Regions from separate parts of the Homo sapiens genome. Here all the other regions are linked to region 2. Evidence: promoter capture Hi-C in 16 types of primary human blood cells and fetal thymus (Javierre and others, 2016). All regions are on one chromosome and are shown on one strand. Each heading gives the region's core, a stretch centred on a gene start or on the middle of the fragment in contact. The rest is flanking DNA. Distances are from core to core; before and after follow the strand shown.

Evidence for each region. The method cuts DNA at HindIII sites, captures the fragments that hold promoters and counts their contacts. A CHiCAGO score of 5 or more calls a contact.
Region 1: a contact is called between a fragment that was not itself captured here and the fragment with the promoter of DNAJB14 in region 2, in 1 of 17 cell types (total B cells). The highest score is 5.2, in total B cells.
Region 3: a contact is called between a fragment that was not itself captured here and the fragment with the promoter of DNAJB14 in region 2, in 1 of 17 cell types (neutrophils). The highest score is 8.5, in neutrophils.
Region 4: the fragment with the promoter of CISD2 here is called in contact with the fragment with the promoter of DNAJB14 in region 2 in 1 of 17 cell types (neutrophils); the score reaches 6.2 in neutrophils.
Region 5: a contact is called between a fragment that was not itself captured here and the fragment with the promoter of DNAJB14 in region 2, in 1 of 17 cell types (total B cells). The highest score is 6.3, in total B cells.
Region 6: a contact is called between a fragment that was not itself captured here and the fragment with the promoter of DNAJB14 in region 2, in 3 of 17 cell types (fetal thymus, total B cells and non-activated CD4 T cells). The highest score is 7.9, in fetal thymus.

Annotation. Positions count from the first base shown.
Region 1 is chr4:102,267,373-102,270,978 of GRCh38, reverse strand. It overlaps SLC39A8 (solute carrier family 39 member 8), which reads left to right. Exons shown (of 9, transcript NM_001135146.2): 7 at 2,900-3,107; 8 at 3,305-3,489. Among named protein-coding and RNA genes, the nearest start is that of SLC39A8, 76 kb to the left of the region's middle. RefSeq lists an enhancer at 2,350-3,549. The HindIII fragment of the contact is 1,138 bases long and covers 1,135-2,272 here.
Region 2 is chr4:99,944,907-99,948,430 of GRCh38, reverse strand. It overlaps DNAJB14 (DnaJ heat shock protein family (Hsp40) member B14), which reads left to right and starts at 1,813. Exons shown (of 8, transcript NM_001031723.4): 1 at 1,813-1,992. The coding sequence starts at 1,860. H2AZ1 (H2A.Z variant histone 1) reads left to right here. Exons shown (of 5, transcript NM_002106.4): 5 at 1-343. RefSeq lists a silencer at 1,550-2,209 and an enhancer at 2,380-2,429. The HindIII fragment of the contact is 11,087 bases long and covers 1-3,524 here.
Region 3 is chr4:102,805,583-102,809,349 of GRCh38, reverse strand. All of the region lies in intron 4 of UBE2D3 (ubiquitin conjugating enzyme E2 D3), which reads left to right. Among named protein-coding and RNA genes, the nearest start is that of UBE2D3, 20 kb to the left of the region's middle. The HindIII fragment of the contact is 4,715 bases long and covers 1-3,767 here.
Region 4 is chr4:102,867,160-102,870,565 of GRCh38, reverse strand. It overlaps CISD2 (CDGSH iron sulfur domain 2), which reads right to left and starts at 1,574. Exons shown (of 3, transcript NM_001008388.5): 1 at 1,379-1,574. The coding sequence starts at 1,481. It also overlaps a transcript of UBE2D3 not described here. RefSeq lists silencers at 1,314-1,433, 1,464-1,753 and an enhancer at 1,984-2,123. The HindIII fragment of the contact is 11,662 bases long and covers 1-2,732 here.
Region 5 is chr4:102,497,614-102,501,558 of GRCh38, reverse strand. The region is part of intron 1 of NFKB1-AS1 (NFKB1 antisense RNA 1); the gene reads left to right. NFKB1 (nuclear factor kappa B subunit 1) reads right to left here and starts at 200. Exons shown (of 24, transcript NM_003998.4): 1 at 1-200. RefSeq lists silencers at 1-250, 261-520. The HindIII fragment of the contact is 1,389 bases long and covers 1,206-2,594 here.
Region 6 is chr4:102,829,377-102,833,051 of GRCh38, reverse strand. The region is part of intron 1 of UBE2D3-AS1 (UBE2D3 antisense RNA 1); the gene reads right to left. It also overlaps a transcript of UBE2D3 not described here. Among named protein-coding and RNA genes, the nearest start is that of UBE2D3-AS1, 3.2 kb to the right of the region's middle. RefSeq lists an enhancer at 3,601-3,675. The HindIII fragment of the contact is 4,037 bases long and covers 403-3,675 here.

The DNA of each region.
Region 1 (3,606 bases), core at 454-2,953, 2.3 Mb before region 2:
ATCCTCTACAACTTTCTCCTCCTTCCTTAAACTGTTCTGCAATAAGCCCATTTGTTTTCTCCATTTTAATTTCTAAGTACTTTTTTTGAAAAAAATTTTGTTTTTTGCCCTCCAATTTATGTTGGGATTCAACATAGTCTCCCTCTATTTTTTTAACTTTGGTGCATGATATTCTTTCTCCCCCATTCTGATAACACTACACATTGCTTTGACTTCCATCCCCATTAATAACTAAGTGAAAGGTGTTACAAGTCTTGCTGAAGATTACACGGTAATTCTTCTCACAGCCAAGCTTGAACTCAGTTTTAGATTCCAGACTTAGTGTCTTTTCACTAGGCTGAATTGCCTCATCATGGCTGAGGATAGAAATAGCCTCATATTTAGAGTAAAACTCAGACAAGAAAGCAAGCAAGTGAACAACAATAACAATAGAAAACAAAAATTTAAAAAGGAAAGAGAGAGATAGGCATATTCACTAATTTAACTACAGGAACTTGAATTTAGTGTTCTCTCTGCTCAGTGATTTAATTCTAGGTGAATTAAAAAAGAAGTTTCTGTGAAGGTTTGCTGACTTTGGTTTGTTCCAAAACTATTAAAAATGTATAACTCTTACCTGCTCAACAGTATCATTTGGGACCAAAGCATGAGGCATAATAAATAGAGTCAATAATATCTGTACTTAGAGGTATGAGAATCATTCCTGATATATTAATTTAATTTCTTCTGTAAAATTAAGGGTGTTTGTATACAGACTCTGTAGTGATATCAGGTAGTCAAGACTTGGTTTTGTAGTCTTCTTCTGAAGTCATCACAATAAGGAAATTTTAAACATGTAATTAGACAAATTAGATTGGAAGATGAAAACAACTGCTTTAATTCAAAATAATCTCATTAAGTATATCACGGCATTAAGTTTTACAAAGCCCAGGTCACTTCCTCTGTGGCTTTCCCTATGACCACCTTTGTTTCTCCTTCAGCTGTAATTGCTTCCCGCTCTGGGGCATTTTTTATGCAAACTACCCGATCCACCTGTGCTAAATTATGATTGTTTATTGTGTTGTGCGTTTAAGATACAGCTATAAAATAAAAAGCCCACATTTTAAGAAAAGATAGAATTTTTTATGCGGATAAGCTTTGTTTCTTAAAATAAAAAAGATTTGATACTTACTCAATGTTGCATCAAGCGTTCAGAAGAGTTTTCTGAGAGGTGGGGAAGTCTCCTTGCGAATTACCTTCAGATCCTATTACAGAGAAGAATTCCCATCCCCGATATGTGTGTAGTAGTAAAGCACTGTTGCCAAAAATGCCCATTCACTCTTTTTTTGTATCTCTGGGTAAGTTTACCAACCTTTTTGTGCTTTAATTTCCTCAACTATAAAATGATGGTAACAGTTGTACTTTCCTCATAGAATTGTTCCAAATGAATTCGGTATTTGAAGTGCTTAGAACAGTGCCTAGCACATTATAAATGCTATGTGCCTTTGCTGTTACTATTTCTACTACGACCACATTGGTGATGACAATGATGATGAATCCTATTACTAACAGTTTCCCATTCATTTCATATTAATTAAAAAAATATTTGCTCCAAATGCTTTTATCTGTGCCTACAAACAAACAAAAATCCAAAGGTGCAGATTTGCCACTAACGAAATAGTAAAGAGATGTATTGCAGGATCTAAGGCTGATTCTGAAAGTGTTGGTCCCCAAAGTGTTTGGAGTGGTGAAGTGATATTGGAGTAACTGTAAAACCTCTTAGATGGTTGCTCTGAAGTAAGCCCCTCTCTGTTGGATATATATTGCATGTTTTTTTTTTAATGTATCCATATATATTATGACTTGTTTCTCCAATGTAAATACACTTCTTGAAGACAGAAGCTGTGTTTTCCATTTCTGTGTATTTCCTATAGCATTCAACAGAGTGTTTTACAAATTTCAGAAGTTCAATAAATGTAATGATTAGCTGCTTAGGTAGAGGTGAGAGGAGGAGAATTAGGAATAAAATGTTCTCCAGTTAATTGCAAAGTGCTTTTGTACTTAAAAATGAATTTGCATTTTATCTTTTTCTACAACTTCTGGAAAGTGTTTTAGTTGGCATTTGTCATTTGATTTTGTACAATTTTGTAAATTTTCTGGAAATCTAAATTCCTACAAAGAGTCCATCACAGGATTTTCTATTTTTTAATTGTTTCTACATGAAAGGAAGTGTTAGTGTAAAGGCTAGCCTGTTCCATTTACACTTCATGCAATTTGTTAAGAAAATAATTAAGCTTTGGAGCTGGTAGAGACCATATTGTTACAGCCTAAACCCTCCACAGGGTACCTGGAACAGAATGGAAACTCAATAAGTTGTTGATAAATAAATGAATCATTTAGTACAATGTCTTCATTTCACAGTTGAAGGAACTCTGTGATAACTTGCTCCCTGTCACATGGTGGCATAGGAGGGGTTAGAACAAATGTTGCTGATGTCATTCATCATGCTCTAGTTGTGGATTTCACATTTAAATTGTAACATAAAAAAGACTTTAAGTTTAGTCTTTGAATAACTTCCTTCATTTTAAATCTTGTGTATAAATAAATTTCTTAGGTTAATATCTGCTACATTTTAGAAAGGCAGTAGGAAGAAGTTTATACAAGTCAAAAGAATTGTTTTAAAGGGAAAGTAAAGGAAAATATCTGTTAGTGGCTTATTCGAGGTGTGTCAGTTGATGAATTTCCTTTCTCTCAACCATAAGTTTTCTTTGCTCTGTTATATATTATTAGGGTTTCCTAGTTACTCTAAAAGACTTTCTGTTGGAACAATTTGTTTTTCTCAAGCACAACCCATCTCCAACTTGTCTGTATTTCTGAGACTTTCAAGAAATGTTGGTTATCATTTTAATTGATTTTCTGCTAGGATGGAAAAAAAGAGCCAAGTTCATGTACCTGTTTGAAGGGGCCCAAACTGTCAGAAATAGGGACGATTGCCTGGATGATAACGCTCTGCGATGCCCTCCACAATTTCATCGATGGCCTGGCGATTGGGGCTTCCTGCACCTTGTCTCTCCTTCAGGGACTCAGTACTTCCATAGCAATCCTATGTGAGGAGTTTCCCCACGAGTTAGGTAAGGAGCTCTGTTCATATTGTAAAAGTCTGCTTACTTCTTGATTTCAGTGGAATGAGACTTTTCAGGTGACATGCTCTTAAAATCCTTCTGATGCACTAAAATGAAGACCTTGTTGGACATTGATGATTATCTTTGATATCATCCAGAAATAAAAAAAAAACTATTCACTTGATATTTTCTTCTTCTTCTTCTAGGAGACTTTGTGATCCTACTCAATGCAGGGATGAGCACTCGACAAGCCTTGCTATTCAACTTCCTTTCTGCATGTTCCTGCTATGTTGGGCTAGCTTTTGGCATTTTGGTGGGCAACAATTTCGCTCCAAATATTATATTTGCACTTGCTGGAGGCATGTTCCTCTATATTTCTCTGGCAGATATGGTAAGAAGCTTAAAATTTGTATTTTCTTTTAATTTAAAATTTGGAAATGAGTATCTGGATTATAAGTTAACTAAGGGTGGCCTTCTGCTTTCCGCAGTGTGGAAGGCCTTTCTGTTG
Region 2 (3,524 bases), core at 564-3,063:
TCTAAATACTCTAACAGCTGTCCAGTGTTGGTGATTCCAGTGGACTGTATCTCTGTGAAAAACACAATTTTGCCTTTTTGTAATTCTATTTGAGCAAGTTGGAAGTTTAATTAGCTTTCCAACCAACCAAATTTCTGCATTCGAGTCTTAACCATATTTAAGTGTTACTGTGGCTTCAAAGAAGCTATTGATTCTGAAGTAGTGGGTTTTGATTGAGTTGACTGTTTTTAAAAAACTGTTTGGATTTTAATTGTGATGCAGAAGTTATAGTAACAAACATTTGGTTTTGTACAGACATTATTTCCACTCTGGTGGATAAGTTCAATAAAGGTCATATCCCAAACTAGTTGTGTATTAAATTTGCTTGGTTGTAATAGGAACTTGTTTTGAGTATCTCATCTAGCAGCAATAACTAAGCACATTTCTTTGTGACTGAACTGTCAAATCTGTAGATCAACAAAGTGAGATAGCCCAAGTATATTTTTTTAATGTTATATGAGCTACTAAAGTTTTAATTTAAAAAGTTGGCAGGAGCTGGAGTGGGATTGTCAGTTTCTTAGGCTAAGTGTGACCATTTCAGTTTGTACATTGGCTTCGCTTGCTGTGTGACAGCACTGCACTAGTATGCTGTTAGCATGGTGGACTTGGGGAGGGAGAGAATAGGTAGGAATGTCCTGTATATCCACAGAATGAACTCCGAATTTAAACTTTAAAGATAATAGTGCTACGTGCCAGGCCCTGCTTTGAAGTCTGAAGTTGTTAAGTACTCAGTAACATCATTGGGGATATACTATCTCCATTTTATCGAAGAGAAGCAGGGTTTCTTATTTGAAAGTACCGAGTTATGGTAGTTAGCAGAATTAACAGCTTGGCTCACAGCATTATGTAAAAATTGTTACCTTGTGGTTGGGTTGAGCAGGTCATTTTGACAGTTTGTCATGTTTTTTTTTAAAAAATTTGCACATAGCAAACATTCCCCCCACCCCCACCGCGAAGACTAACAAGACACGGTACTTCCAAGTGGTAATGTTATCCAAATGGGACGGAAAAGGTGAAATCAAAAGTTTGCTTTCGTTAGGGCAGCCCCTGAGGGGCTGATTCCTGCCTTGTTTTGGCTACACAGGATTAAGGTCGATCTGCACCACTCGTTGCAAGCTACAAATTAAACTGCTTTGTACTTTGGATAGCCAGACATCCGGGTCAGAAAAAATGTAGCTGAAATAAGGCTGCCATACAAGCCCTAAGATTAGGTTCAAACGACGCTCTAACGTGTCCCGGAAGTGCTGAGACTGGACTGACACCTTGGTCCTCACCTGACCGCATCCTCCCTCGCTTGAGGGGCCCAGAGGCGGAACCTCCAAGTCCTGGCAATTTTACTGAAAACGAGTGTCCCCTTCCCGGACCCTGTCCTCCTGGCCTGAGCTGCGAGGGCCTCGCCTGGAGGTCACAGGGCACGGCGCTACCAATGCCGGCAATCGGGTCCCGGGCGGAACCCCTCCCCGCGATGGGCAGCCCGGCTGCTATCGTCCGCCTCCCGGGCAGGTCCGCTTCGAGCCTGCTGGCGCCGTGCGCGGACCACCGAGTCAGCTCGGACGCCCCGGCCCAGGAGGTTGGTCCTGGGCCGGGACGGATGCGGATCGCGCCCTAGGGGCCCGCGGGGGGCGGGGAGGCCGCCGTGAGGAGGCGGAGCTGCGAGGCCCGCCCGTCCGCCCGGGCCGTCGCAGCCGCTGCCGCGGTCCCCTGCGCTCCTCCCCGCTGCCGCCGCACGCCCCCAGCCGGTCCCGCCTCGCCTCCTCCGCGGCGGCGGCTTCCGCCCTTCTTAGCTGCGCTGCCGGAGGAAACGGAAGAAGGAGCAAGCTATGGAGGGGAACAGGGATGAGGCTGAGAAATGTGTCGAGATCGCCCGGGAGGCCCTGAACGCCGGCAACCGCGAGAAGGCCCAGCGCTTCCTGCAGAAGGCCGAGAAGCTCTACCCACTGCCCTCGGCCCGCGGTGAGACCTCAGCGTCCCTTCTCTTCCTGCCCAATCCCCAGACCACCGCGTAGCCCGCCCCTGCCCCCACCTCGGCCCCTCCTGGAGGCCTGCGGGGCCCCCGGCCTGTCTGAGCCAGCCCCAGCCCCAGGCCCGGTGGGGAGCATCCCGACACACCCCCGCCCTGGCCCCAGCCCCGGCTCCGGGCTGGGGCTCGGGGAATGCTGCGCGAGGTTCCTCTGCACCCGCCTGCCCGCCGGCTCCGCGTTCCGCTGTCCTAAATGTCCGGGTTTCATTCTCCCTGGAGGAGACTTGTCTGGTCCCGTCTTACCACAGTGAGGCTTTATTTGTATCTGTGTTGTTTATGTGGCCCCCTCCCTCCCCATTCTCAGTCCTACATAAGGCCTAGGCCCCTATCGAAGTGAGAGGAATGGTGTACTCTAGTGGCTAATCTCAGATTCCATGTTTCTGAGATCTGTAGAAAACTGTTCCCAAAGCAAACATCGAATACCTGAGATGACATTGCTTTTCCCTGGGAGAGAGTTCCTTTAAAAGAGAAGAGCACACTTTCGGCAAGAATGGTCAAGAGTCAGTAATGATTGCTGAAGAGTATCTGATTTGATAACACCATGATTATCGACGAACCAAATCTCTGAGGAATATGGTACTGGGTTTCCTTTAGTTGAAGTCAGCTTATTTATTTTCCTACTCGATAGGCTTCGGAGTAATAATAGCCAACATTTATTGAGCACAAAGTGCCAATAGTTGTGCCCAACATTTTGCATGGATTATTTCATTTATTCCTCAGAACAATTCTGTGTAGAGGTGCAGGATTCATTTGACCAGGTTTACCCACGTGGAAACAGACTTTCTGATAATTAATGAATGAATTAGCGAATGAATGAAAGTATCTTACCCAAGGTCACACAACAATTAGTAGCAAAGTCAGAATAGTAGCTGAACTTTCAGACTCGAAAAGGCCTTTAACCGCTACACTGTTGCCTTGCCATTAGTATTTCCAGGTTAAGAAGAAAGTTATCGATAGATTCAATTAATTGTAGAAAATTATTAATGAAAATATGGGGCCACTTGTTTTGTTGTCTCTTAAATTTTTTTCTCTACGTCGTTGAAGCCCTGTGCTCTTTGCTTTTCTCTCTATCCTTTCCATTACATTGCCTTCTAACACTATACCCATGAGGACAGGAAAATAAAATGAAAGAAAAGAGTTAATAATTTTTTAAGTTGTGGTTTAAAAACCTGCCAAATTTACGGTCTTAACTATTTTTAAGTGTGCAGTCCATTAGTGAAGTATATTGACATTGTTGTGCAAGGACTCTTCAGAACTTTTTCATCTTACAACACAACTGTGTACTAATCAGACAGCTCCCTACCGCCCCGTCTCCTAAGACCCTGGCAACTACCATTCTACTTTGTGTTTCTGTGAATTTAACTACTTTAGTTACCTCAGATAGGTAGATTCATGCAGTATCTTTTTGTGACTGTCTTACTTCACTTAGCATAATGTTCCCAAGTTTCATTTATGTTGTAACGTG
Region 3 (3,767 bases), core at 714-3,213, 2.9 Mb before region 2:
TACTGGCTCTGATATGCCATGCGTTGTGTTACTCAGAGATCTTATTCTGTTACTGCAGCTGCCAATAATCTAGCTTAATTGTATTTTGATATTTGATTCTTTATAGAACTTCAGTTTATGCAAAATTTGAATATATTTAGGCAGAAAGTGATATTTTGAATATAGCAAAATTCCTTTCTATCCTGGGTAGATAAGCAACTATATGCTGGATAATTGAATATTCAGAATTATGGATACCATCTAAGAATTTCAGAGAATTAGAGCGCACTAAAACATCCTGGGGTAAGACTGTATCTTACACAAATATTTAACTTTTTTTTTTTTTTTAACTTGCTAAGGCGCTTAAGGATTTGTTTTCTAAGTTACATGTGTATCTTCCTGAAAACTGTCTTCCCTTTTTGGTGGTTTTATAAGCAACATAAAGAGCAATAATGTACTAGGTGAGATAATGGTCAGTAAGTAATATTTAGAATTCTAAAGGAAAAAATGCTCTTAGAGTTAGTAGATGAGTCGAATCAACAAGTATTTATTTAGTAATTCTGATTCTAACTTTAGTCATTTTTCTGTCTCAAATGTGAGTACATACTGTGTGCCAGGTAATAAGGATACAAATTGAACATAATAAACATCCCTGTCGATCTTATAGGGAACTTACACTGTATTAGAGGAGACAGATACCTAAAACAAGTGCTGAAGTGTGACAAGATGGAAAATAAGTGATTGGTGAATGAAGTGCTGAGTAGGATAAATTAATGGGAAATTGAAGCAGGGAGGATTAATTTAGAGTAATTAAAATGTTAGTGCCCTAAAGGTAGAAAAACTAAATCAAAGTAAGACATGGCAGGGGTGCAAATATTAAGTTTAATACTTTGAAACGTCCTGGATCATTTTAAAACAAAGTAACATTTAAAACAGTAAAAATAGTCCTGTAATAACGAAATGCACAATCCTGGCTTTGTAGTTATTAAAAGTACTTACTTTTATCTAATTTGGTAGCAATATTGTTTAATTTTAATACACGCAGTTAAATGTTGAGTTACCCAGTTTGGCCCACACGATATTTTTGAAAGTTGGCAGTCTTCAAATAAAAGCCTTCTGAGTAGGCCCACATTCCATAAGCAGTAATGGCTTGGGATGGAATGACAGCTGCCTCCCTTTTTTAGATGGGATATGTGTTTACCACAGTGCCTACTAGGTCAATTCCATATTATCTGCCTAGTGTTTTGTAAAGCAGTTGCTTTTGCAACCTCTAGAATTTTCCCATTTTGGATTACCAGTTTTCAAAGAATGCTATAAAATGCCTTAAAATAAAGCTCATCTTTGATTCAGAGGGTAGTTGATAGTTTCATTATAAAAATTGTCAATACTAAGAAAGCACAGAAGCGTTGGTAATTAAAACTTCTAATTGGATGGTGTGCAGAATAAACTAACTCTTTAAAACTAGTTGGTTTTTCTGCTTGACAGTTTAGACTTTGTTATTTTGAACAACACACTAGTTTTTCCCAAAAGGCAAGGAACATACCTATAGACAATCAAAAGGAAACATGAATGATGAGTGTATGGTAGTAATTTTTTTAGAGAATGGTGTTGCTTATTCTGACAGATTTTTTAGCAGTTTACTTAATTTGCTGTTATTTTGAGAAAACATTTACCTTTTTTCATTTTTTAAATATATATTTCAGGTGATGGCTATTCCTTGCTGAACTTTTTCAGCAACCTTTTAATATAATGACTAGCAGTTTTCTGCTTTTACAAACAGAAGCATGTGATTTTCAGAACCATTTAAATATTAACCTGATTAACCACAACTGCTGGGTTTTGCTTTGGTAGCAGTACTCACTGAAATATGTTTTCAGTTAAAAAGGTTAGTTCTCACTGTTGGTTGGGTAAATTTCAAGAAGGAGTCAAAGATTATAAAAATCCACCCAAAGTACGGGTATTGTCTTGTACATAAGTAAGCACATAATTTAGATGCCAGCTTTAAATAGTTAACTATATGCTTACTGTGGAGTGCACCAATGAAACAACTCATTTTGTTCTTTTGGCTTCTCAATACTTCTTTGTGACAAAGCATCACTGTATAAGATAAATAGTAGCTTATTTTGTGAGTATGGTTGCTCTATGTAGCAAGCAGTTGTGACCTAAAGCAACCCATAAATTACAGATTTAGTGGGAGAACTGGACAGTTAACAACGTCACTTTTGCTTTGGACTACTACTTAGGTCCCTTAAAGTGGTGCCAGTGCCACAGAACTGAAGATTCCTGACTGTAGGGAATATACCATCTAATTTTGAGTTTCAATAGAGTAACTTTGATTTTAGTGAGTTGTTGGGAAATCCTTTAGATCATTAGTTATGCAGCAAAATTGCTTGGCTTTAATAATCATATGTACTGGCTTATTCTTTCTGAAGGTAAGCTACTTCGGAAGCACAACTATTGACTAAAAACTAAACCTTCGAAAGAAATGACAGCATTGCTAGTTTTTTGTGTGCGTGGGTTTTTTTGGGGAGGGGGGCGTGGGGTACTGTATTAAGGTTAGTTTCCAACAAGAATTGATGTAATTAGAAGAAATTGACTTCCTTACCTATTGCCTCTGATATTTACTTGCTTAAATTTTTTTTTATTGGAAATCCAGAAAAAGTGGATTTAGAGAACAACACTAACTCCCACCTAATCTATGACAGAGATGTAGAAGAGAGTACCTGTGAAAAATGTGAAAGTATCTGAAAAATGTAACCTTTGGCAGCCTGAGCATAGTCAACCAGAAAAACTATCTGAATTAAAATAATTGGTCCATAGGTACTATTTTATTTGGTCCATAAGGATTATTTTTTCAACTTTTTTTTCAAGTGTATTATTATGTCATTTCCCACGTAGGTTACTGATACCTGAAGACTTTTTCCACCTTTAACCTTACTCGTTGAGGAGCTTTGTAGTCTAATAAAAGAGAAATATAAGTAAATGTTAGATATATGGGTGGATAATGGTAACTATGTGCTTAAAGAGGTATAAAAGAAGGGTAGGGAGCAGATAAGACAAAGGAAGGGCTATATTATAAGGAAGAATATTCCAAGTAGGGAAGAGAAAAAGATATGTTATCCATATAATATTTTATGTGCAGTAGAGAACATGTTCTATAGAAGAGACAGAAGATGAAACTAGATGGGCACCCAGATCATAAAGCACCGTATGTACTTAGGAGTTGGAATTATCTTAAAAACTATCATAGATTTCAAGCAGGGGAGTAACATTTTTAAAAGACCACTTTATCATTAGGATGGAGGGATAATCATTAGTAAGCTATTGCCATAATCTAGGCTGAAGATAACATCATGAACTAAGATGGTAGTGACAGTGGGCATAAAGGAGAAGCTAATTCAAGAAATTTTAAAGATCTTACTTGATAACTATCTTGATTCTGAGATAAGAGAGGAAGAAGTTGATGATGAGATCCTGGTTTATGGCTTTCAGTTATGGCTTGCTATTAATAAACAGGAAAAAAGGGATTGAGACAAGTTTCAGTTTTGGACGCATGACATGAGATATCCAAGTAGAGATATCCAAGTAGAAATATCAGTAGGCATTTGAATATATGCCCTGGAATGAATAACTGACCAGAGATATATTTTGCAACTCAAATTTTTATGGGTCAGCAGTTAAGAGTAGAAAATCAACCTATAAGAATACCAGCATTTTTAGCTGGGTGTAGTGGCACATGCCTGTAATTCCAGCTTCTTTGGAGGCTGAGGCCCGAGAATTTACTTGAA
Region 4 (3,406 bases), core at 325-2,824, 2.9 Mb before region 2:
AATTGCATGTTTTCTACTAAAACTCTTAATATTTAAAAAATATTAAAATCTCACAATCCACTCAACAGAGCGTCTGTCTGACCATAATTCAATGAATCTCTAGATTTGGAAGAGAATTTGTCATCTAGTTTATCCCTTCTAAATCTATCGACCACCCACCACCAGAGTCTTTTTGTTTGTTTTTTTCATCTTTGAGAGGGGCTATCACTGAAGCACCACATTTGTTTGGGGAAAGCATTCTTTAATTTAAAAAAAAATCTTCCTTAGACTGAAATTCACCTCCCAATAACCTTCACTAATTTGGTTAATTTGTTATCAGTTCTATATTTTAGTCTACACAAATCTTATTTTTCTTCTACCAGACAGCTGTGCGATTGCTGTATTTTAGGTCAGGTACTACAGATCTTTAGAACGTTCCCGGCGAAGCAACCCTATTTACCTCAGAATTATCTTAATTCATGTTTGCACTCCCTGATAACCTAGGACATAGGAGTTCAATACTTGCTGATTCCTTCACCATCCTACTCGGTCTGAGTTCCGTTTAGAAATATCCCCCTTACAATGAAATGCTCATAACTCAACACAATCTCCCAAGTGTTGACTGCATTCTGGAGATTTTCATCCTTTAGATGTGAAATCCTCATGAGTTGTGTGGGTTAAGTGAGGGTCCTTAAGTATAGAACGTTACATATATTCACTAAATTTCATTTTCTAAGATTTCACTCCTCATACCGGCCTTCGAATACTTTCTTGGGTAAGGTATCTTTCTTCCAACTTAAGTTACCGCAGCGGGCCCCGGGACCGTAGAAACGGAGATGACCTCAAATGCCACCTATGATAGGTCAATTCTAACCTGAGGGAATGGAGGTTATCTCCTAATTTCGTTACTAAATAAAACGGTCATATACGTGTTACGTGTAAGTCTATATTTCTCTCCCACACACTCCCACCCACATGCTGAGGGTACAACCCAGCCGGTAGCTGGGGCTGCCTGTTACATGAGGCCTTAGATAACGACGACTTAGCCCGCTTTAAAATAAACAAGTACGCTACAGAGAGCGATGAGCAGGACAGGAGATGAAAGAGACTGGCCTGTTCCCAACTCAGCACCTTCTCTGCAAAAACCTGGTATCTTGCCACGGAATGACACCGGAGACAACTCCGAGGACAAAAGACCCTGGGGCATCAAGCACCCGGAGACTGCCTCACAGGCGTTCCCCAGGCAGCTGCGTCGGCGCGCGCCCACCTTCCTCTGCGCGCGGGGATCACGTGCCAGGCGCCGAGCTCCGTCCCGCCCCTTGGCCCTAGGATTTTTACGCCTCCTTCCCCCGCTTGGCGAACGTGCAAGGATGGGGACTGGCTGATGGGGGAGGATTACCTGTGAGCCTAGCGAACCCGGTAATGCTTTCAGGGACTGGGAGCCGCTTCAGATATGCAGGGAGCTGCACCTTCACGATACGGGCCACGCTCTCCAGCACCATCCTGGCCAGCGGCGTCCACTCCTCTCCCGAGCCCCCTCCGCTCTGGCCAAGCTGCCGCGCCTGCGCCGGGAGCGGAAGCGGCCGGCGGGCACTGGCGGCCTCGGCCTGGGCGGCGGGCGGGGCGGCGGGCCCTGGGAGGAGAGGTGACCTGCCGGGCGCCGATTGGCGGCGGGCGAGTGACGTACGCTCGCGGCGGACTGCCGAGGCGCGGGAACTGGCGGGTAGCGAGGCCCTCCTCGGAATCTCGTGTGAAGGTGGCCCTCCTCTTGGGCCTTTAACGTCTGTAGATGCTGGAGACCAGCAGAAAGGATACTGTGTGCGATGAGATAAGCATGTGAGAATGCTTTCTAACCGAAAGTGCCTTTCAAAAGTGAGTCTCTTGCTGTCTCTACTTCGTCCCCTCTCGCCCCGCCTCTTCCCCTACAGTTTGGGTGCTGTGGCCCTAGGGTTGCATACTCGCCCATGAGTATCCTCCCCCTACCCAGACCCCAGTGCCTAATTTTACTCCTTCACCCAAAGGCCAGGCTTAAAAAAATAAAAATTAAAATATTTTAACTAAACCAGGAACTGTTTACATCTCTGCCCCTTGGCAACTTAACTGCAGCCCTAGCTCCAAAAACCTCTGGTTTTTGCCACTCAGAGAAGATTCGTAGTAGTCCTTCCTTAGATATTTTCAGTTCCTTTTCCTTCGGGAAAGTGGTAAAAGAATCCAAAGCTGGCCGGGCGCGGTGGCTCACGTCTGTAATCCCAGCACTTAGGGAGGCCGAGGCGGGTGGATCACGAGGTCAGGAGTTCGAGGCCAGCCAGGTCAAGATGGTGAAACCCCGTCTCTACTAAAAATAGAAAAATTAGCCGGGCGCGGTGGCAGGTGCCTGTCCCAGCTACTCGGGAGACTGAGGCAGGAGAATCGCTTGAACCAGGGAGGCGGAGGTTGCAGTGAGCCGAGAATGTGCCACTGCACTCTAGCCTGGGAGACAGAGCAAGACTCCGTCACAAAAAAAAAAAAAAAAAAGAATCTAAAGCCTTATGTATGGTTTTCTTTATGTTACAAGGCTTCTGCTGAAGTCTAGCGCAGGGGGTCCTTATGGCTTCCCTAGGCCACACTGGAAGAAGAATTGTCTTGGGCCACACATAAATACACTAACACTAATGGTAGCTAATGAGCTAAAAAAAAATTTTTTTTCATAAAGTTTTAAGAAAGTTTACAGATTTGCATTGAGTGGCATTCAAAGCCATCCTGTTGGGCAAGCTTGATCTTGAAGGTTTTAATTTTGTTGTTGTTGTTGTTGTTACAAGGTTTCGCTCTATCGCCCAGGCTGTAGTGCAGTGGTCAGATCATAGCTCACCGCAGACTCTAACTCCGGCTTAAGGGATCCTTCTGCCTCAGCCTTCCAAGTAGCTGGGTTTACAGGCGTGTGCTGCCACACCCAACGAATTTTAAAAATTTTTGTGTGTATGTAGATGGAGTCCCATTATATCGCCCAGGCTGGATAGTTGTTTTTATTAATATCTCTAAAAGATTTGAAGGGTAAGAGGAGAAAATTTCACTCCCTTGAAATAACTTTCTTGCTATGACTTTGTTTCATATTTTGGCTGAAGTCAAAATGTCCGAAGTTGTGCACTTGCTGATTGGATAATGTGTGTGATATCTTAATAATATGCCTCATTATTTACAGTTCTACACTTAACAACATATAATAACGAACTGCTAATGGTCCAGTATTTCATTGTGTATGACAGTGTAACAGCCAGTTATAATAAATACTTTCCATTTTTCCCCTTGGTATTTTTATTTTACAGTGAGAAAAGGAAGGAATTTTTTAAAGCAATCTTTCATTCTCTGGACTGTATAAATTTAGTGTTTGTGATTGTCCTTCACTAAAAAAGAATATCAGTAATAGAGTTGACCAAAATCTAGATTAAAT
Region 5 (3,945 bases), core at 651-3,150, 2.6 Mb before region 2:
CGGCGCCGCCTTACTGGCCGGGCGGCTGCGGCCTCGGCGGCGCTGGGCTCCGGGAGCGGGGCCGGTGGCTGCGTGCAGGCCGAGGGCTGCGGCGGCTGGCGGCCCGACCGACGGGAAGGGCAGGGGAAGCTGTCAGCGCGTCGCCGGGCCGCTCCGGTGGCGAAACCTCCTCTTCCTGCCCCGGCTCGCTGGTGCACTTCTCTCTCTTTCTGTCTCGCTCACTCTCTCACTTCCTGGCTGGAAATTCCCACTGACGTCGAGAGAGCATACAGACAGACGGACACACGCGCGCACGCAGCGGGGGCGGGAGGTAGGGTCGCTGCCGGGGGTGGGGGAAGCCCGCACTTCTAGGGGCGCTGTGCGCCCCCGGCCCGGCCTTGCCGCTCGCCTCGGCTCCCGCCCCTCGGGGCCGCTTCGGGGCGCCGGGCGAGGGGCGCGCGTTAGGCGGCCTGGACGCCGCGGCCCCTGCGGGGCTCTGGCTTCCTAGCAGGGCGCTCCCGAATCCCAAGGGCTGGAGCCGGTAGGGAAGCCCCCAGGAAGCGCCTGCCGGGCCCAATCAATGGTCGGGGAACGCAGGCAGCACGGAGGCGGCGGCGGTGGCAGTGCCGCTGATAGAGTCATGCGGTCCATAGCCCCTAAGGGCAGGCCCGAGCAGCTGGAGGGTCGGCATGGATCCAAGCATGCCAGATATAAAAATAAAGCTCATCTGTATATTCCATTTAAGCGTGTCTCAGTTACATTCACATCTCTTCACAGATTAAACTACAATTTCGTTATCATAAACGACTTGTGCCCAGTAAAGTATAACCCTCTACTGGTTTTTGGTGCGGTCTTAAATCTCCTGGTTATAGAGCAGTTACTCAGAATGTTCATCTACAAGGCATTGTTAGGCCTTTATGATAATTACTGTGGATAGAATTATAGTGATGGTGGTAGCAATGGTTTTGGTTCACAGCTCATAAAATACTGATCTGGCAGAGGGGAGTTTTCTTTTTCTCTGAAGAGACCGCTACTGGCACCCACTGACAGGCCTCCCAGTGGCCACCATTCACTGGCATCTGAGCTGCTTTAGTGCTGGGCACTGTATTAGGTACAGGCTGGGGATACCTTCGGGTGGATTACCTCCCCACATAAGAAAGCTTGAGCCGAAATATATATTTTAGAGCTCATTGTTTCACTACTGGGTGGAGTGACAACTGAAAGCTTAGCTTTAAAACATCAGTAATCAGGTCCTCACCAGGCAATATTGCAGTGGCATTTAGATTGCTTATGGCATGTTCATCCTAGTCCTTTCGTGCCCACTCTCCATCCTCCTCCTCCAGTAGGTTATAAAAACCTTCTTGGTGGAGTGTTTTTCTGGAAAAAAAAAATAAACAAAAAAAACCCACACACACAAAAACCCAGCGATCCATTTGATTGCCTATGAGGTGAGTCTCCGAGGCGACCTTGGAGGCCCCAACAGTCGACCTTTAAGTGATCTCATTTAGCTCCGGGAGGCTGAGCAGCTGGAATTTAGAGGATCCATAAAGACTGAACACAATGACTTTTTAAGAAATTCTGTGAGCCGGGTGCGGTGGCTCACACCTGTAATCCCAGCACTTTGGGAGGCCAAGGCGGGTGGATCCCCTGAGGTCAGGAGTTTGAGACCAGCCTGACCAATATGGTGAAACCCCATCTCTACTAACAATACAAAAAAATTAGCCGGGCGTGGTGGCGGGCGCCTGTAATCCCAGCTACTCCAGAGGCTGAGGCAGGAGAATCGCTTGAACCCTGGAGGCAGAGGTTGCAGTGAGCCAAGATTGCGCCACTGCACTCCAGCCTGGGCGAGACAGAGCGATACTCTGAGAAAGAAAGAAAGAGAGAGGGAGGGAGAGAGGGAGGGAGGGAGGGAGGTGTGAGCATACACACTCTACTTTTCATTCTGCAAGGGGTGGCAGCCCCATTACCAAAAGATAGATAAATACAATTGTTATAAGAGTAGAGCCAGTGTGACATATTTGGGAGTAAAAAATGAAGAGCGTTAATTACTGAAAAGGATTAAATCAAACTCCAAACTCAAAATGATTCCATAAAATGAACTTAAAATTCAGGGTAGGGTGTTGAGCAGGCATATTTTCCTGGGGCTGCTGTAAAAATTTACCACCGACTGAACAGCTTACAACGGGAATTTATTCTGTCACAGTCCTGGAGCCTAAAATTCTGAACTCAAGGTGCCATTAAGGCCATGATCCCTCTGAAGGCTCTAGGGAAGAATCCTTTGCCTCCTCCTAGCTTCTGGTAGCTCCAGCAATCCTTGCCATTCTTGGCTTGGCTGCAACACTCCATTCTGTGCCTACATTGTCACATGGTCTCCTTCCCCGTGTTTCCTTTGTGTCGCTATATTCAACTCTCCCTCACCTTTCTTTTATGAAGACACCAGTCATTGGATTTAGAGCCCACCCCAATCCAGTATTACCTCATCTTAACTTGATAACATTTGCAAAGATCCTAGTTCCAAATAAACTCATGTTCACAGGTACCTGTGGTTAGGACTTGAACATATGTTTTGGGGGGATGTAATTCCATGCAGCACAGCAGGCAAAACTATAAAAGCTTTTTGGCTTGCTGATTAACCCTCCTCCATTCCTGCTTTGTTACCCAACATTTTCTCTACACTGTACAAACCTGCTTCCAGGAATATCTCTTACAAATTCATCCATCCTAAGGTGTCAGAAGGTATTTGCCATTATCAGGCTACGAAGAGGAAAAAAATGCCTCAATGTGGAATTTCAGACATCAATATTGTCTAAAAGACAAGTTATTTTGTGTTTGTCACTTGTCTTAGTTCATTTGTGTTGCTATGGCAGAATACACAAGACTAGGTAGCTTATAATGAAAAGAGGTTTATTAGGCTCACAGTCTTCAGACTGTACAAGAAGCATGGCACCAGCATATGCGTCTGGTGAGGGCCTCAGGCTGCTTCCACTCAATGGAAGGCAAAGGCGGGTGGTGTGTGCAGAGAGATCGTATGGCGAGAGAGAGGGGAGAGATGCCAAACTTTTTAGCAACCAGCTCTCATAGGAACTAATGCAGTGAGAACTCACTCATCCTCTCCTCCTTGCAGGGAATAGCATCAATCTATTTGTGAGGGATCCACCTCCATGACCGAAACATCTCCCATTAGGCCCCACCTCCAAAATTGGGGTCACATTTCAACATGAGGTTTAGAGGAGACAAATACCCAAACCATAGCATCACTAAATCATTGAAACTACACAAATTTCCCTTCTCATGAAGCTATTTTGGAAATACCAGTGTGGAGAGAATTCTGAGGTTGAGATCTGTGTAGTGTGTTCATTGGCAATGAGAACATAGGAAAAGTATGTCTTCTTTTTAATTGCCTCTGAGTAAAGGTGACACAACACTTCTGCCCACATTCCATGGCCCCACTTAGATGCAAGAGAGCAGGGAACTACAGTTCTTCTGGTTGGTTAGGAGGTTGAAATAGGTCGGCTAAGCATATGGTTAATACCTGCTATACACGTATTCACTTATTTGGTTGTCAGTCATATAAAGTGGATCACCATTATAATCCCCATATTTACAGATGAAAAGTTGAATAATTTTCCTAAGGTTTCATAATTAGTAAATAGAAGGAGAGTCAGGATTTGAACCTAACAGATTTGGCTCCAGTGTGCATGATATTAACCACCACACTAAACTATTATCCAATGATATAAAAAGGAGCATGTAAGAGATTTTTAGAAGATGAGGTCAACAGGACCTGTTTATAGATTATATATGCAGTTTGAGTGAGAGGAAGACTCATAGATAGCTCTGAGTGTTCTAGTCTGAGTGATTAGAATAGTAACACTGTAACTGGGAAAAAATCTGTGGGAATGTAATGCATTCCCACATACCAAACATACATGTAACATGTAAACATACATATTTTAGACATGTTTA
Region 6 (3,675 bases), core at 1,172-3,671, 2.9 Mb before region 2:
ATTTTATTAGAATATCATATTTTGTTTTTCTATAAACATTTTTTTTTTTTTTTGAGAGACAGGGTCTCACTCTGTCACCTAGGCTAGAGTGCACTGCTGCAACATGGCTCACTGCAACCTTGACCTTCTGGGCTCAAGGGATCCTCCCACCTCAGCTTCCAGAGCAGCTGGGACCACAGGCACATGCCACTATGCCTAATTTTTTTGTAGAGACACAGTTTCATCATGTTGCACAGGCTGATCTCAAACTCTTGGACTCAAGCAATCCTCCTGCTTTGGCCTCCCAAAGTGCTGGAATTACAGGCATAAGCCACTGTGCCTGGCTTGATTTTATTGTAACATTCTAATAAAGGTAACTGGAGGGAGAATTCCCCCCGCCCCCAAATATTTTTTAGGCAAGCTTGACCCAGTAAATAAACTAAGTTTACTTCCTGTACTCTCTCTTATTAGTGCAACTATTTCAGATCTTTCTCACATTTCTTCAGGATTATTTCATTAACATCCTGTTTTTCTTGCCTCTAGTCTCCATCCCAATACATACTTTGGGCACATGCTTCAACATTGCTATCACAGTTACCTTTTTGCCATCAAATCTGATCAGGCCATTTTTGTTAAAAATTCAATTTCTCCATTCTATCCCATCCCCTTCAAAATAAAAGGCCCTCAAGATCTCCAGTCATGTCTTTCAAATCTATCTTGTCTCCTCATCTTTTCTGTCTTCTCATTCTCTCCTTGCCGCTCCCCCCGCCACCTCAACCTCGCAATACTGCAGCCAAAGTTTTTCTAGTTTTAAAAACTTATCAAGTCATCTCTGAGACTTTGCATGCTGTTTCCTCTTCCTAGGAGCCTCCCTCACAATTTTTTTCCAACTTTGCCTTGCTCCCTTTTTTTCATTTGTTTTAATACAACTCTCTTCCTCAGAGAAACTTTCCCTGACCACCGCCAGCTGAGTTCAGTACATTAATAGTGCTCTGTGCACACATTTATGTCACTGAACCCACTCTATGATGTTGTCTGATGCTTACTGGTCTCCTCAAGAGACTTTCTTATAGATGACATCTGTGTCTTTTATGTATCTTCAGTGTCTAGCACCTAATAGTAATTCGATGTTTTTTAAATAAATAGAAAACTAGGAGTGACTCTATCAACAGATCTCTACTACATTAACATTCTTTGTCCTAAACCTGAAAGACTCCCACTTGCCTATTCAGACCTAAGTATCACTGATTGACAAACCGAATGAAAGTCTCTTTATCGTGCCTCACCCTACACCAAAAGCAGTATTACAAATATATATTTTTTTAACCTGTGTTTGTAAGTAAACCAGCTTTTTGGAAGACAGAATGCACTATTGTGGTCATTTCACATAAACAGAATCAAACAGTATGTGGCCTTTTGTGTCTGGCTCTTTCACTTGACAGAATGTTTTAAGGCTTCAAGATACATTTTGTAACATGTATTAGTACTTTGTTCCTTATAATAATAATAATATTCCATTATACACATATATCACATCTTCTTTATCCATTCATCAGCTGATGGACATTTGAGTTGTTTCTACTAAAAAGTAGAATAGCCCTACTCTGAACATTTGTGTATATATATGTTTTTGTGTGGAAAAATGCTCTATTTTTATCTCAAAGATTTGTGCATGCTTCATTACATGCCAAAAGCCTTATTAAGGCCAAAATGACATCTTAGCATGAAATAAAGTACACTTTCTTAAACCATATTAATTTGACTTAATGAGATTCTGAATTGTTAAGTATAGAAATCAATTTGATTTTTGTGCAAACAATGTAAAATAACATTTGGTTGACCTGGGCTCCAAATTACTTGGTCCAGGCAGAATATGTAAATGAGCATTCTGAATATAAAATCTGGACCGTAGCATTTACAATTTAATTAAACTAATAAAATGGTATACACTGTACTAGAGCCAGTGTCTTTGGCAAGTTATAATATTCTGTAACAAAATTAAAGATACATGAAAACATAGATACAATATTAAGTACATATATATAAAATCTGTTAATTATGTTTATTCATCAATACATTCTAATTAACCCCTTACTCTCAAGTTATTATAATAACGTGGCCTCACTGAAAAATTCATGTAATAAGACCCTGGCACACCACCATTATTCAGATTGGTAGATTAATTGCCCATTTACTAGTAATTTTCTCTGAGACAGGGTCTTGCTCCATCACAGGCTTGAGTATAGTGGCACAATCACAGCTCACTGCAGCCTCAACCTCCCAGGCTGAGGCAATCCTCCCACCTCAGCCTCCCAAGTAGCTGGGACCATAGGCGTGTACCACCATGCTCAGCTAATTGTTTTATTATTTTTGTAGAGACTGGGTCACCCTATGTTATCCAGGCTGGTCTCAAACTCCTGGGCTCAAGTGATCGTTCCACCTTGGCCTCACAAAGTGCTGGGATTACAGGCGTAAGCCACCAGCCCAGCTTTAATTTTCTTGATCCTTTCTATTTTCTCATGTTTTATGTCAATTCATGCAAGATAATCTGATCTACTATATTTACAAAGTTTTTAGGACTTCAAAATAGTATTTATTAAGGAAGGGATTATTTTTAGTTAATTAAATTTTCAACATTTTTGTACCTTTATTAATTTCTAAATGTAAATTTTTCTTTCAGTATTTACAGCCATAATTTTTTTCTTGTTAGCATTATTTCCGACTGCAATATAAAAAACATGATTATTTTCCTTTCTTGTTTCAAATGAGGACATCTCTACCATTGTAATTCAAGTAAGTTAAATGAATGAAAATGTTTTAACTTTATTTGCAACTGTAAAGTGGGCTCTCTGTAACAACAGGTACATGAATAATGTTTTAAAATTTAACTTAATCTTAGCCTGCTTTATCCTAAGGCATCAAAATGCTTCTAGGCTATGTTTCTTTTGATTTTAACCATGGCAAAATATAAGCAGAAATGTAAGTCCACTTATGCAAATACAAACTTGTAAACAGAAAGCCCAATCAACCAATGAATTTACTTCACTGCCTAACAATAATGAGTTTGTGATTACACAATCACTTGCCTTTATAAGCATGGATAATCTAGAACTCCATATATATTAGTTTTGTTTTTTGTTCTTGTTTTTTTTTGAGACAGGGTCTCACTCTGTCGCAGTGATCTTGGCCCACCGCAACCTCCGCCTTCCAGGCTCAAGCGATTCTCCGGCCTCAGCCTCCCAAGCAGCTGGGATTACAGGCGCCCGCCACTACGCCCAGCTAATTTTTTGTATTTTTAGTAGAGATGGGGTTTCACTGTTTTGGCCAGGCTGGTCTCGAACTCCTGATCTCATATGATCCACCCGTCTCAGCCTCCCAAAGTGCTGGGATTACAGGCGTGGCCACTATTACTACTATACATTTGTTTCACACTATGGCCAGTTAATGTCTGACTGGTTACTTTAATAACTGACATTTATACAGCACTGTAGAGTCTCCAGTGTCCTTTCACATATATTATGACACTTTAACCACACAATCACCCTGTGAGAAAGGACAGTCATTATTACTTACTTTAGCGGTGAAGAAACGGGGTTAGAAGATAACTAACCAGGCCAATATCAAGCAAATGGGAAGCAATAACTAATCTGGGTTCCTCCCTCCATCTTCATGCCTAGTCCTGTGCTTTTAGTATAT